3 separate regions of the Homo sapiens genome follow, and all the other regions are linked to region 3. The links are contacts of gene promoters, found by promoter capture Hi-C in blood cells and fetal thymus (Javierre and others, 2016). All regions are on one chromosome and are shown on one strand. Each heading gives the region's core, a stretch centred on a gene start or on the middle of the fragment in contact. The rest is flanking DNA. Distances are from core to core; before and after follow the strand shown. Region 1 overlaps LARGE1 (LARGE xylosyl- and glucuronyltransferase 1). Region 2 overlaps LARGE1 (LARGE xylosyl- and glucuronyltransferase 1). Region 3 holds the start of LARGE1 (LARGE xylosyl- and glucuronyltransferase 1).

Evidence for each region. Contacts are between HindIII fragments. The CHiCAGO score rates a contact against its expected background, and 5 or more counts as called.
Region 1: a fragment that was not itself captured here is called in contact with the fragment with the promoter of LARGE1 in region 3 in 2 of 17 cell types (naive B cells and total B cells); the score reaches 7.6 in naive B cells.
Region 2: a contact is called between a fragment that was not itself captured here and the fragment with the promoter of LARGE1 in region 3, in 2 of 17 cell types (naive B cells and total B cells). The highest score is 8.7, in naive B cells.

Annotation. Positions count from the first base shown.
Region 1 is chr22:33,524,252-33,529,130 of GRCh38, forward strand. All of the region lies in intron 6 of LARGE1 (LARGE xylosyl- and glucuronyltransferase 1), which reads right to left. Among named protein-coding and RNA genes, the nearest start is that of MIR4764, 90 kb to the left of the region's middle. The HindIII fragment of the contact is 3,453 bases long and covers 1,463-4,879 here.
Region 2 is chr22:33,506,990-33,511,411 of GRCh38, forward strand. The region is part of intron 6 of LARGE1 (LARGE xylosyl- and glucuronyltransferase 1); the gene reads right to left. Among named protein-coding and RNA genes, the nearest start is that of MIR4764, 73 kb to the left of the region's middle. The HindIII fragment of the contact is 3,692 bases long and covers 602-4,293 here.
Region 3 is chr22:33,917,787-33,922,303 of GRCh38, forward strand. LARGE1 (LARGE xylosyl- and glucuronyltransferase 1) reads right to left here and starts at 2,690. Exons shown (of 15, transcript NM_133642.5): 1 at 2,209-2,690. It overlaps LARGE1-AS1 (LARGE1 antisense RNA 1), which reads left to right and starts at 3,439. Exons shown (of 2, transcript XR_001755630.2): 1 at 3,439-3,737. RefSeq lists silencers at 2,218-2,317, 2,588-2,737, 3,058-3,557. The HindIII fragment of the contact is 4,427 bases long and covers 901-4,517 here.

The DNA of each region.
Region 1 (4,879 bases), core at 1,939-4,438, 390 kb before region 3:
TTGCACTCCAGCCTGGGCAACAGAGTGAGACTCCCCTCAAAAAAAAAAAAATAATAATAATAATAAAATCAAGCCCATTTCCTTGCCAGGCTCCCCACATCTCTAACTCCTGGCACTCACCAATATTATCACCTTTCTAATCTATTTTCTAATTTACCCTCTTGTCATCTTATAAAATCTTCTCTAATAAGTTTCTTAGTACAGGATCAGATGCATAATTTGTTTACTTGAGCAAAAGAAATGTCCAACTCAATCCTGGGGCCACATAACGTCTCACCCCTCATCACTTTCCCATGCTCTCCCATTCGCTCCAACCCACCCTTTTCTGAAATTACATCTGGTACCAGACAATGATTTTCCTCCTGGAGGGTTTGGAGTAAGCCCTCTTTTCCCACTCCAACATGAGTGTGAGAAAGTGGAACAAGTCTCCCCCAGGGTGTGAGAAAACCACGTCACTCTTCCTGGTTGGCTGATCTGCCAAAACTTTCTAGGTAAAGCTAAAAAAAAAAAAAAAGCAAAACCAAACCAAACAAAAAAAACTAAGTCCCACAGAAGCTATAAGCAAAGTACAGCCCACTGGGAAAAAGTACTGCAAAGAAGGTCCTTTCTGTCCCATGTTTATCTACTGAATTAATCTCCAGATGGCAAAAGTAGTTTGTTTTGGTAAAGAAACCAGGCAAGAGAGATTCCAGAGAATTGTCTGAAATCCAATAAGGTTGCCAAACACTGAGATGGCTTACTACTATTTCTTTAGCACACAGGTCTTCTGGTTTAGGAAGGTGTAAATGTTTAATCTTTTGTTTAGCATCTTTCCATCAGGCAATGTGTTGATGTCATCAAGATGGAACTCATGGCTTACTCAAGTCAAGTGATAATTAGGGCACGGAGGAAGGAGGAAGAGAATGAAACCTGACTCCATTCTGCAGGTCTGCCACAGAGAACAGAGGGTCCCTTGACCTTCTGACAGTAATATGCTCAGCTTAATCCTTCAAGATTGAGGCTCAAAGAAAATATGTCTTCAATGAAACTGCTTCCGCTGCAAATTCCACTACCACCCCAGGCCCATAGTACTGCCTTGATTTGCAGCATAAGAAGTATGATCTCCAAGAAGAAATTGGAGGTATTCAGAATCTTGGTTGTGACTACTGGGCAAGGTAGACAAAGAGACTGAAACAAGCTGAAAGCTGCATGAAACAGCCTCTCAAATAAAGCCTGTCTTCTGTTGCATGTCACTGAGAGTAAAGAAAAACAAATGCAAGTGATATTTGATCTATAATCAAGATGCAGGTCCCAGATATGAAAATGTATCTATTAAATACCATCCTGCCTTTAGCTCATGGTTAAACAACTTCATCTGTTCCTAGGTGACCCGTAAGTCCTGGGTCCCCTATGTTTCCCCCCCAGCATACTGGATCCACTCATTATTTCTGAATGAGTGCTCAGAGAGGCTACGGGGACGGGAAGCTTCTGCAGGTCTTGACTCCAAATTCATCACCTGTGTTTCACCTGTCTGGTTAGCTGGCATTCAGTGAAGACACAGCGGATTGGTATTCTTAGCATATGAACAGCTACTTGTAAAATACAGCCTTGCAAATGGTGCAGCCATTTGGAAAATGGTTTGGCAATTCCTCGAAATGTTAAACATGGAGTCAACATATTACCCGGCAGCCCCATTCCTAGGAATATACTCAAGAGAACTGAAAATGTATGTCCACACAAACTATGTACAGAAATATTCATAGCAACATTACTCATGGTAGTCAAAAAGTGAAAACTGCCCAAGTATCTATCAACTGATGAAAGCATTACAAATGTGGTATATATCCATAAAGCGGAGTATAATGCGGCCATAAAAAATGTGCTACAGACATATGCTACAATATGGACTAACCTTGAAAACATTATGTTAGGTTGAAAGAAGCTACAAAAGATAGCAATGTTTTACGACTGTATTTATAAGAGAAAAAAACTATATTTATATGAAAAAAAATTCTACAGAGGATTAGTGGAGAGCCTGTCTTAAGAGTTTCTAGTCTAATGAAGGAAACACACAAGTGAACAAATAGGTACAATGCCAGAGACTTAAAGAGGCCTGTTTTCGCCACAGATGACACTTAAAGAAAAGAGAGATGGACCTTACGTGGCTTGAGGGGAGAGAAGAGGCTTCAGAGAAAAGGCAGTATTCAATGCTGGACTTGGAGCCTTTGCAGGCATTTATCAGATGAAGAATCCTAGAATGGGCACCTGTTCACATTTCAGCTAGGTGCCTGGACTAAGGGTTTTGCTTGTAATGAAACTTCTGTAGTGTACAAGATTCAGAGAGTGCAGTATCCGTGTGCTCTCACATGGCTCAGCAGAGAGCCTACGCTGGACAGGCGCTGGGAAGAGTTCAGAGAGAGAACACAGAACACAAGTCCATCAACTGCAAAGGCTGTTCTGATCTTCCAGGGTAACTTTGATTTATTCTGTTTTCCTTTACTCTTGAGAAACTAAAACTTTCCATTTCCCGGACTTCCTTCTGTTCTCTTTGTACACTAATTAATCAAATACTCAATTAATCCACCATTTGATTAAAAAAATACACAAGGCAAGGGGTTGTGAATACAAAGAGAGAGTCACAGACATGCTCCCCTGCAGCTCACAGTTGACTACAGCATTTCTCAAAGCATGGCCTGAAGACAGCACCTGCGTTACCACGGGAGTTGCTTAAAAATGGAAATTCCGGCTGGGTGCAGTGGCACACGCCTGTAATCGCAGCACTTTGAGAGGCCGAGGCGGGTGGATCACCTGAGGTCAGGAGTTCGAGACCAGCCTGACCTACATGGAGAAATCCCATCTTTACTAAAAATACAAAATTAGCCAGGCATGGTGGCGCATGCCTCTAATCCCAGCTACTCGGGCGGCTGAGGCAGGAGAATCACTTCAACATGGGAGGCAGAGGTTGCAGTGAGCCGAGATCGCACCATTGCACTCCGGCCTGGGCAACAAGAGCAAAACTCCGTCTCAAAAAAGAAGCGAATTCCAAGGATAAAAACCCCTATAGGTCGGATGAGCTAGATTTGGAACTCTGTTTTCCCAAGCGTACTCCAAATGGTTCTGAGGCAGGTGGTTCACGTACAAAGATAACGGCATTACCACGTGGAAGGAGCTCAAAGGGCCAGTGAGATGATGCAGTGGAGACACAGAGCCAAGGCGATCGGATTTATGTTCCCAGGGGACAGAAATTCTGAACGGCCTTTCATTGGTGGGTGGCACTCGGATGGCAATCAGTTCAGAGGCTCTCTCAAAGATGAGTGCCAACTTTAATCCCTCTTGCTGTCTTTCTCCTTGACATGCTCCTGCATCGGTGTGACACCCACCCCACCCAGAGTCTGAGGTTCTCTGGCTCCTCTACACCCTCTTTAGAGGGAAGGTAGAATCATCTGCCCAGATGTGGAACCCATTAAAGGAAGGTGACAGCACAAAGAGAAAGTGACTGGCCCCTTGACCAGAACAAACCATAATAACAAAAGGAAAGAAGGGAGGGGGAGAAAGGGCCCAGGAGACAGTGGAGGAGGTGTAAACAGTGGTTCCCAAATGACAAACCACATCTGCTCCTAGAGCAGGACTCAGCTGGCTGTAGGCAGAGGTGGAGTTCCTGCATGGAAAAGCAGAACAACTTTGGTGCCAATGTCTTTTTGGACTTGAACAGATCTTAATCTTTCAGGGTCCCCCAGATTTTCTGCTCTGTAACATCAGAATATTAATATTGATCTCTCAGGCTGCTGGAAAGATTAAACGAGAAAAAAACCCATATGAGTAAAATATTCTAGCAACAGATCCTTGTACAGAGTAGACATACCCACTTTGTTCTTCAAACTGTGGGTTCTGGCAGAGGTCGGGGGGGGCGGGGCGGGGTAAAATCTCACAAAATGTCCAATATTAAGGATAATACAGTAGTGTCAGCTAAAGAATGATGAAGTTCATAAATTTGGAAAGGAGAGATTTATTTCTCATAAAGGGTCGCAGCCTGCATGGTGGCTATTCTAACAGGCTGGGGACTGTAGACTCCGTCAGAAACCAGAAACAGACACTTCACCAGAGGGAAAAAGGAAACAGAAATTTATGCTGATCAGGGTGACCAAATATACATATTCAATAAGCTATAGGAGGAGTCATGAATATTTATAAAAGGAGACACGTGCCCATGAGCAACTGAGCTTCATGGCCCTTCATGTGTCTCATGAACAAAAAATGGCAGAGTTAGCATTATCCAAGGGTGGAGGTTTTGATCCTCTGATGTCAAAAGGTGAAGCAAAGGACACAAAAACTCTTATTGCACATTCTCCATAGACTGGCCAGAACCACTCTGTGTTGGGTGATCTCTGATCAGGTGAAAAAGGAGGGGCAGCATCAGCAGGTTAGTAGATATCAGTCTCTTGAGAGGGCTGGTTTTTGTCAATCCCTTGCAGAAGAAAGCCTAACGGTGGTTAGCGAGGGAGGGGGCATAACGAGGTATGTTTGACACTGACACCCCCAACCCATCACGGCCGACAACTTAGTTGTCAAGGTTACTCTGGGGTCTCCTTGACCAAGAGATGGTCTGATTTGTTAGGGAGCTTAGGATTTTATTTTTATTTCTTAGTACTTAACATTTATTGAGTGTCTACTATACGCCAGGCATTGTTCTATGCATTTTGCACGTATGGAGTCATCTCTTCTTAGAACAAGCCTGAAAGACAGTTCATGTCATCAGCCTCATCTTTTATAGGAGAGAAACTCATCAACTCACCACTTCCCTTATCTCACTCCCTACACGTGGAATAGCACTTTTTTTCCTCTAATTATTCTCTCTTTTGTCCTTCCTCAGTATCTTTCCTATCAGCTTATGCCTTAGCCA
Region 2 (4,422 bases), core at 1,198-3,697, 410 kb before region 3:
AGCAAGGGAGAGTTTGCTTTTAAGGTACTCACAGGCTGAAGAGGGAGTGGGAAGAAGAGGTAAGGGAATTGATGGTCATGATGGTGTCACATGCTGTGATCCAAGTAAACACCCCCCAACCCCTGTCACAGTGATAGTCAAGGGAAGCCTTAAGAATGAGATGGAATTCAGCAGGCTGATGACATGAACATCCCAGGCATAGGGACCAGCTTTTGCAATGGCATAGAGACCCGAGAGCAGGTATGCTGTTTGCTTCAGAAAGGTGCAAATGAAACAAGGTTGTCTGAATGGGCATCTGGTGCTGGGAGTTAATCCTAGAGAGGGGCTCTGAGTGCAGAGCTAAGGATGCTGACAGTCCTGAAGTGTATGCCCAGGAGAAGGAAATTCTCATACATGCTACAAAATGGATCAAACTTGAAGATATCATGCTAAGTGAAATAAACCAGACATACACTAAAAAAAAACCCGCAAACATCATATGACTCCACTTATATGGGATACCTAGAATATTCAAATTCATTGAGACAGAAAGGAGACTGGTGGCTACCAGAAGCTGGGGGAGGGGAGAATGTACAGTTATTATATATATTAATAGGTATAAAGCTTCAGTTCAGGATGATGAAAAAGTTCTGGAGATGGATGGTGGCGATGGTTGTACCACAACGTGAATGCACTTAATGCCACTGAACTATGTACTTTAAAATGGTTACAATGGTAAAATTTTGTTAGGTATATTTCACCATAATAATGTTTCTGAAGCACGGTGTTCTGGTGGAAGACACACATTCATGACCACCCTCTTCTCATCTATGGAAGTTTAGGAACTCCAGCTTGCTCTACACTGGTGTGGTACCAGAATTACATACCTAGGGGGACTGTTGAGGATTCACACTTTACAAACAATCTAGCATCTTTTAACAGCAATCACCTTCTGGAAGAGGGGGACCTTTAAATCCCACAATTCCTACCTCCTCCTTGCGTTTCTGACTAACTTCCCTAATTTTATACCTTTGGGTTGAAGGAAGAAAAGAGACAGAACAGAAACAGCCACACTTCCCTTTGATAATGTGCTCCCTCTCCTAATTAACAAGACCTTGCACAACTAAACATCTGCCAGCCTCAAAAACTTTCACAGAGATGAGCTTTGATCACAGTGGAGCACACAGAATCTACACCGAACAACAGAATTTCACATAGCCAAAACCAGGTGGTGCTAGATCCCACCCTGCTCAATTTAATCTGACATTCTGAAGACTCTACTGGTGGGTGTCACCCTGGGCAAGGCACAGGGGCCACTGCAGGGCACTGGGAACGAGTAAAACACAATCACTGCCAACTTCAAGGAGCACATGGATCAAAGGCAGCCTTTCTCCTCTTCCAATGCACACTATACTCATGGGTAACCAGGTAAGAGGGTCATGTTAATTACACCCTTACCATTTTCTTAAAAGGGTTTTCTAAAACCTACATTTGGTAACTCAACACTAAAGTGTACATATTTGACTCTCTATGTGAAAATTCTCTTTCCTTGGTTTCTCTTCTTTCTCGCGACACTCTCACCAAATGCAGAGAACTGTCATGTGGTGATCTCATTCAACAATTTGTCATGCTTATAAATCACTTTTTGCTTCCTGGAGAAAGTTACAACGTACATCCATGACATCCTATCAGAATTATGCAGGTGTATCCAAAAGGTTGATTGGCAACTTTAATATATACCCCAACAGAACAATCTCATCCTGGCAAGCATTAAAAACTCATCGCATATTATTACTTCACGTGACATTTGTCTCCCGAGAAGCATCCATCCAACTGCGATGGTGTTTGCATGCAAAAGGAAAATATGGCAGGGAAGTGTGGGAAAAAACCCAGAGTGAATTCAAATGGTGGGGATGTCTTTGAACCACAACTGTTTTCCTCTCTAGAGTCATTAGTGCTAATTACTAACAACTACCCTGGTGACAAGTGCTGGCAGTTACTTAGCTGCTAATTGGCTTCAATTTACCGCTCTGATTGTGTGGTCACAGGTATATATTTGCTTGGGGAGTGAGGAAAAGAACAGGTATATCAGGCCTTAGGCTGTCCTTCCAAAAGACATCACCTGCCTAAAATGATCCGCCTAACCCAGTGGGTTTCAAACTTTCCCACGCATTATAATCACTGAGGGCCCCACCCCTAGGGTTACTGATTTAGTATGCCTGGGGTGCACCCCAAGACTTTGAATACCAGCAAGTTCCCAAGTGAGGCTGATGCTGCTGGTCCCAGGGCCACCTGTTGAGAACCACTGGCCTCATCAATACTCTCCTTCAACCTGATCCAAGACCCTCTCCCCATCTCATCTGTCTCATCTGCAAAATGGAGGCAGTGCAACAAAAACAATTGTCTTGGAGGTCCCAAGCACACATTCCATTGCAAGGATGAAATGGTGTCATGTTTAATAGAGTCCTCTATGGAAAGAGGGATTTTTATTTTTTTTTTAAGAGACAGGGTCTTGCTCTGTCACCCAGCCTGGAGAGCAAAGCACAATCATACCTCACTGTAATCTTAAAGCCCTGGGCTCAAGTGATCCTCCCACCCCAGCCTCCCAAGTAGCCCAGACTACAGGTGCATGCCACCATACCCAGCTAATTTTTAAATTTTTTGGTACAGATAGGGTCTTGCTATACTGCCCAATCTGGTCTCAAACTCCTGGCCTCAAGTGATCCTCCCACCTTGGCCTCTGAAAGTGCTGGGATTACAAGTGTGTGCCATTGCGTCCAAGATTTTATAAATGTTCTGTGTTTTTATAAATGATCTGTGTTTTGCCCAAACCTAACTGGGCAATTTAAAATCTCTCTCGTCTGCTTTCATTTAGACAGAAATGAATCGCAGAGAGTGAAGGAAAAGTGAGCGGTGCATGTTTACCTGGGCTTCACCAACCTATGACAATTTTGCATTTGGGAAAAAGTCTCGCCGCTCCCCTGTGAGCCCTCATCTCTGACCTTGCTTTGATCTACATTTGAAACCTAAAGAACAAGAATGTGTGAGTACAATAATAAAACCAAATCAATATTCCAGCACCTACCTAACAGATTAGAGAATAAACCTGAGAAATGAGCTCATTATTCTACTTAATAAACTACCATAAGCAAGCAATGTACTGGGAGTTAGGGATGTAAACACAATAATAGTAACTACATTTATTAGGCACCGACCATGCACGAAGCAGTCTAAACATGCAAGTCTTAATCCCTGCAGCCACCTTGTAAGGGGGTAGTGGTGATGACAGCAAATTCGAATAACATGCCTACTAGGTCCCAAGTCTCCTCTAAGCATTTTATACATATTTACTGATTTAATCAATAACTATATGAGTTAGGAACTTTACAGATGAGGAAATTCAGCCATAGAGAGGAGACCTCTAACAATTGGCTTGTGTCTCCGTGCTAGTAAAAAGTGGAGGTAAAATTGGAACCCAGGCTGCCTGTCTCCAGAGGATGTGCTAATGACTGCTATACTCTATCACCTCCGCTGGTAAGTGTGTATAGCCCACATTTCACTGATAAGAAAATACCAAAGTCCACAGAGGCTAAAAACTGGTTTGGTGTTTTCTGTTTTGTTTTTGAGACAGGATCTAACTCCAGGAGGGTAGGCTGGGGTGCAATGATGCAATCTTGGCTCACTGCAACCTTGGCCTCGCAGGCTCAAATGATCCTCTCACCTCAGCCTCCTGAGTAGCTGTGACTACAGGTGCATGCCACCGTGCCTGGCTAATTTTTTGTATTTCTTTGTTGTTGTTGTTGAGACAGAGTTTCACTATGTTGCCCAGGCTGGTCTTGAACTCCTGAACTCAAGCAATCCGCCCACCTTGGCCGCCCAAAGTGCTGGGATTACAGGCGTGAGCTACCACACCCAGCCTGGCTTAGCTTTTGGTTCTGAAGTCCGTGCTACATGCCCCAGGCTCTCCAATGACTGGCAAATGGTCCCTGTTCTTGAGAGAAGGCAAGCATATATACAAATGAACCCAATTCAAGGTGGCGGGTGCCGATACAGTTCTGTATTGTCGGGCAATCCATCACACACATAGTGATTTTCTTCCTGTTTTACTGATGGGCCATTAAATGACTGATGAGACCAAACGGGGGCAGCCAGACTTTCCTCCCATTTGGACAGATGTTTCCACATGTGGCAGCTGTACTCAGGTATCTTCACACGCAGCTTTTACTGCTGCTATTTCTTTATGTTGCTGATGCCAGCCACATGAGTTGTACCTGTGTGTGTACTGCTGTATGCCTTGAGGTGGGGTAATCTGGAAGCTTAATACCCCATGTGGTAATATTTATTGAGTACCCTTTAAACTATTAAGAATACTTTTAGTCTCTGATACAGACAACAAGGGTGATATTTCCCTGGCATTTAAAGAGGTTTTCTGTGTTGTTACTC
Region 3 (4,517 bases), core at 1,440-3,939:
TAGGCACTCAGAATCCACTCACTAGTGCAAGCATGTACTAGATCCCAAAAAGTTCATCTCAGGAACCCTCAAGATAAACCACAGTCTCACGAACCCTCAACATAAACCACAGGCTCATGAACCCTCAAGATAAACCACAGTAACATGGGCCCTGGTGTTTTCTTCTTCGATGGTGGAAAAGATAACTAGTCCCCCCTAGTGTCCTGCTACTGTAGGTGGCTGAAGGATGGCGACACTACAGGACGCACCCTCCCTGCACTGTGCATCAACTTTAAAGCGCAGCTCAGGAACCCAGAAACAAAGGAAACCTTCGTCACAACCTTCCCAAGAGATGGAAGCACTTCCGAGACCTATGATGAGATGAAAAAAACCTTTCATTTCATTTCTAAGGCCCTTCCAGGTATGGTTTAAAAGCCAAAGGAATCTGCATTGGCTCACATCAAAAAGTTAATCCACACCCCAGCACACTTCATTAAGTGAAGCAGGAGGGCCCACACTTGTCAGCAGCTACTGCTCACTCCAGAGCAATCCGATCTTCCCGTTAAAAACCTCTCTCTCCTGCCAGGGGGATTTGATTCCTTTCCTCGCCACTCTTGAAAACCCACTAACCTCTAAATCTTGGTGATTTTTGCCTCTCTGTTCGAGTGAGTTTTCTTCCTGGTATGGAATTAACAGGGACAGGCTCGATAAATGTGTTCTCCACAAGCAATTTTCACTAAAGTACTCTTGAACAATAAAGGTACACTAAGAGATGTGTGAAATCTTAAAGCTGGCGTTTTTATTTCTTTTATTTTTACCCCTAGGGAGGACCAAGCGTGCCAGTGAGTAATTCATTCATGTCACCCATTTGTGAGGGATGGGAGAAGAAACAACCACCACTTGTTCCCTTCTTAATTTAGAAGCTTTCCTTATCTTAAGTCTATCAAAGCTGACTCCTGAGGTGGGAAGACAGGAGAAGTGAGAAGAAAAATTAACCCGAGGTGACTGCCTCCACGGAATGATAAGCACTTCAGGTCTCCACACCTGTGTCAGAGAAGAAAGGCATCTGCATGTCAGGGAGGCGGACGCCCCCACCTGCCACCCCCTCCGTTTCTCCCCTTGAAGGAAGCAGGAGCCTGATCTCCCCCCACTCCCTCCTCTCTCTCTCTCTCTGGGCACTTACATAAGACCCTGTAAAACTTCCAGTGACATTCACGAAAAATGTAAGCTGCTATTTTGCTCCCTCAGGAGATCATTTTAATGGACTGAGTGACAAAATTCACGGATTCTGAATTCAGCAGAAACCTGCTCAACCGAGGCACATCAGCACAGAGACGAAAAAAAAAAAAAAAAAGAGTCCAACCCCATTAAACAGGGTCACCCAAGGGATGGATTCAGTGTGCAAGAGACAATCTGTTCCCTCCGAAGTGACCCATTTAAAATCAGATTGTTCTGGGGGAAGCTCACAGGTTTAATAAATTTCAAACAGGCAAGGACAGGCTTGTACAACTGAGGTTCCTTAAGAGGAACATTTAAAAGAGGATAAGGCAATGAACAAAATAACTTGAGGATACACAAACTTTGGAGTCCTCACTCCAAAACTTCAAAAGCAGTGACATTTACAAGAATGTCTGGATAGCTATACACTGATCACTCCTCACAAGCAGCTTTGACTAACAGGAAGGACATGCTGGCTGGGCTTCCCCCCTACAGATAGCAATGCCAACCAACCACTCTGTCCTAAAGAGGGACTCGCAAGCTGTGGCTGCTCGCCCCCAAATTGCGCAGGACTGTCTGCAAGAAGGAACAAGAAAAGTTATTCACAGCATCACACCACGAAAGGTAGTTGCGTACCGCCCAACAGGGCCCTCTCCAAACACGGCAGGCTCCGCGAACCACAGGTGCTCACCGCTAACAAGAGGGCCGGGGGTGCGGGTATCGGTCACATGCCCTCGTGGTGTTAACCAGAAACTCCTCCTGGCTCGCTCCCTGCCAGCAGCCTGTGTGCCCAGAAGCCGAGCAGGCCCTGAGGGGGTCCTGGGGACTTCGGAGACTGGGGGCTTCCACCTCCAGCCTCTCCAGGGCTCCCGGCCGGGGCAGCAGAGGGTGTGCCCGGCCTCCCCGCCGGCATCCCGAGTACAGGGGGTACCAGCCACAGGTTCGGAGAACTTGTCCGGCGCTACACACCACGGCGCCCCCGCGGCGACTCTCGCGCTCCGGGGCTCTTACCTTGGCCGTGACTGCCGCCAGGCAGAGGGAGACACGGAAGAACAGGGTGGCGCGGCGGCGCCGCCGCCTACGAGGCGCAGGGGGTCCGGGTCAGGGTCCCGGCAGGCGCTGCCCTACTCGGAGCGGCGGTGCCAAGCACAGAGTTCGGGACTGCCCCCGGCTCCAAATGCCGCGGCGAGGGTCCGGGTCCCCCAAGCTGAGCACTGTCCCTTCTTCCTCTTCCTCCGGGGCCGCTGCCTGGAGCTGCTCCCGGCCCGGGGGACTCTTCCGAGCCAGGGGCGCCCCGCATGGGCAGGGGCCTGGGTCAGCCTCGGGTTGGGTCCAGGGAGCGACCGCCGGGGCCGACTCCACCTCCCGCGCTCCAAGCCGATTCGTCCCTTCAGGGCAGGGCCTGCCCGCGAACAGCCCGGCGAGACGAGCGCGGCCGCGCCCCCAGCTTCGGGCGCCCGGGCTCCGGCGCGGCGGCGGGGCAGGAGCAGACTGGCCGGGCCGGGCGCCGAACGCGGCGGCGCGGGGGGGGCTGCAACCGGCCGCGGCGCGCTCTCCCCCAGGGCCTGCGCCGCCCGCCCGCGGCTCCGCGGGAAAGAAGCGCCGGAAAAGGCCTCGCCCCGGCCTGGGGCGCGGGGCCGGGGGCGCGGGGCTAGGGGAGGCGCCCCGGGAAGGTCACGGGAGCGGAGGCGCGGCGAGTGGATCGCGGCGCGGTGGGTGCGGGGAGCCGAGGCGGGCGGCCCCCGCCGCCGGGAGCGCTCGCCGGCCTTGGCCGCCGCCGCCGCCTCCGAGATGCGCCGGCTTCCCGGAGCGCCCGGCGCTCGGAGCTGGGCGGCCGCTGCAGCCGCCGCGGGCAGCCGGGCGCCGCTGGCCGGAGCCGGCGCGCGATCCCCGCCTCCCGCGCCCGGCCAGGAGTGGGCCGCCGCGCGGGAACCGGCAGGGGCGGGCGCTGGGGTCCGGGCTCCGGGCTGGCCCCGCCGCCTCCGCGTGCCCAGAGCGCCGGACTCGCTCAGCAGCTGCAGTGACTGTGTGTCTGTGTCATGTCTGTGCAGCCGGGGGGGACCGCGAGCCGGGGCTGGGTTCCGAGCGGGGGCGGGGCCGGCGCCCGCGTCGGCGCCCGCCCCCGACCCCGTGACCGAGCGGCCGGCCAATGGCAAGCGCCGCAGCCGCGCGGACCGAGAGTTCGCCCCCGCACAGGCTCCGCCCCCCGGCGAGACTCCGCCCCGGTGCTTCTTCAGCTCGCTGGCTGGCAGGCAGGCGGAAGCAACACCCGGAGCCGGGATCCCGGGCCGGGTCGGGATGAAAGGGTGCAAGCTGGGAGCTCCCCGCCCTTCTTCCCCCAACCCCGGCGGCTCCCGGCCGCCTCGGGCTTGGCGTGCCTCGCGGAAAAAGGGGGAAGGGAAGCGGGACGGGCCCGCAGCTGCCGTGGTAGAGAGGCTCGCAGGCTTGCAGGACCATGCAGCCTGCTCCCCAAATTGCACAAAACAGCCGTCGTGAGAAGTAGGAAGTTTCCCCGCCTCGGGTCGCAGCTTCTCTCGGAGGTGGGCATGCTGTGGGGCAGCCGGAGTCTGTGAGGAGCCCCGCCGAAGGGCTCTGACGGCATCTTTCTGGGATCGGTATCCAAGAATCCTGTCCAAGGCTTCCTCTTCCTCTGAGGAAACTACATTTCTTTTTCCTCCACCCCAAACACACACCCCATGCACGCACAACACGCCCCTCCCCTGCTGATTTTATTCTCGCTCTTTCCCTCTTGGCATAAGAACCCGGCGCGCAACATCCCTTGAATGGACTTCCAGCCTCCCAGTTCTAGGGACCAGGGTGGGGGTACGGAGAGTCCTCCCGAGCCACAGGAGAAGTGGGTGAAATGGGTCGGGGCACAGGAGCGGGGGTGTGAGAATGGATGGAAGGAGGATGCCCTCGAGAGAAGACCCAGAGGAGGCGAAAGCAGAGAGGCAGGGAGAGAAAGAGGACGCCGAGAGCTGCACAACTCGGACTCGGAGACCGGAGCTCCGGGCGCGCGATCCAGCTCCCGGGTTTTTCCGCAGCTCGGTCCCAGGGCTTCTGGGGTCCCCTTCCCCCCGGGTCTCCACCTCTCCCCAGCCGGGCGGGCCGCCGGGTCTTTGCCTTCCCTCTGCGCGCCTCTCCGCTCTCCAGGACTCGAGCGAGGCAGCGGGAAGCCCACCCTAGTTCTTGGAAGGGGCAGGGGAAGGATGGGCTGGGGAGGGGGCGCGCGGGAAAGGGCCGCCGAGCTTGGGTTGCCCAGCTGACCCCACTCCTCGAGGTCGGGCTGGGGGGGTGGGGCGGCAAGGGCTTCGGAGGCT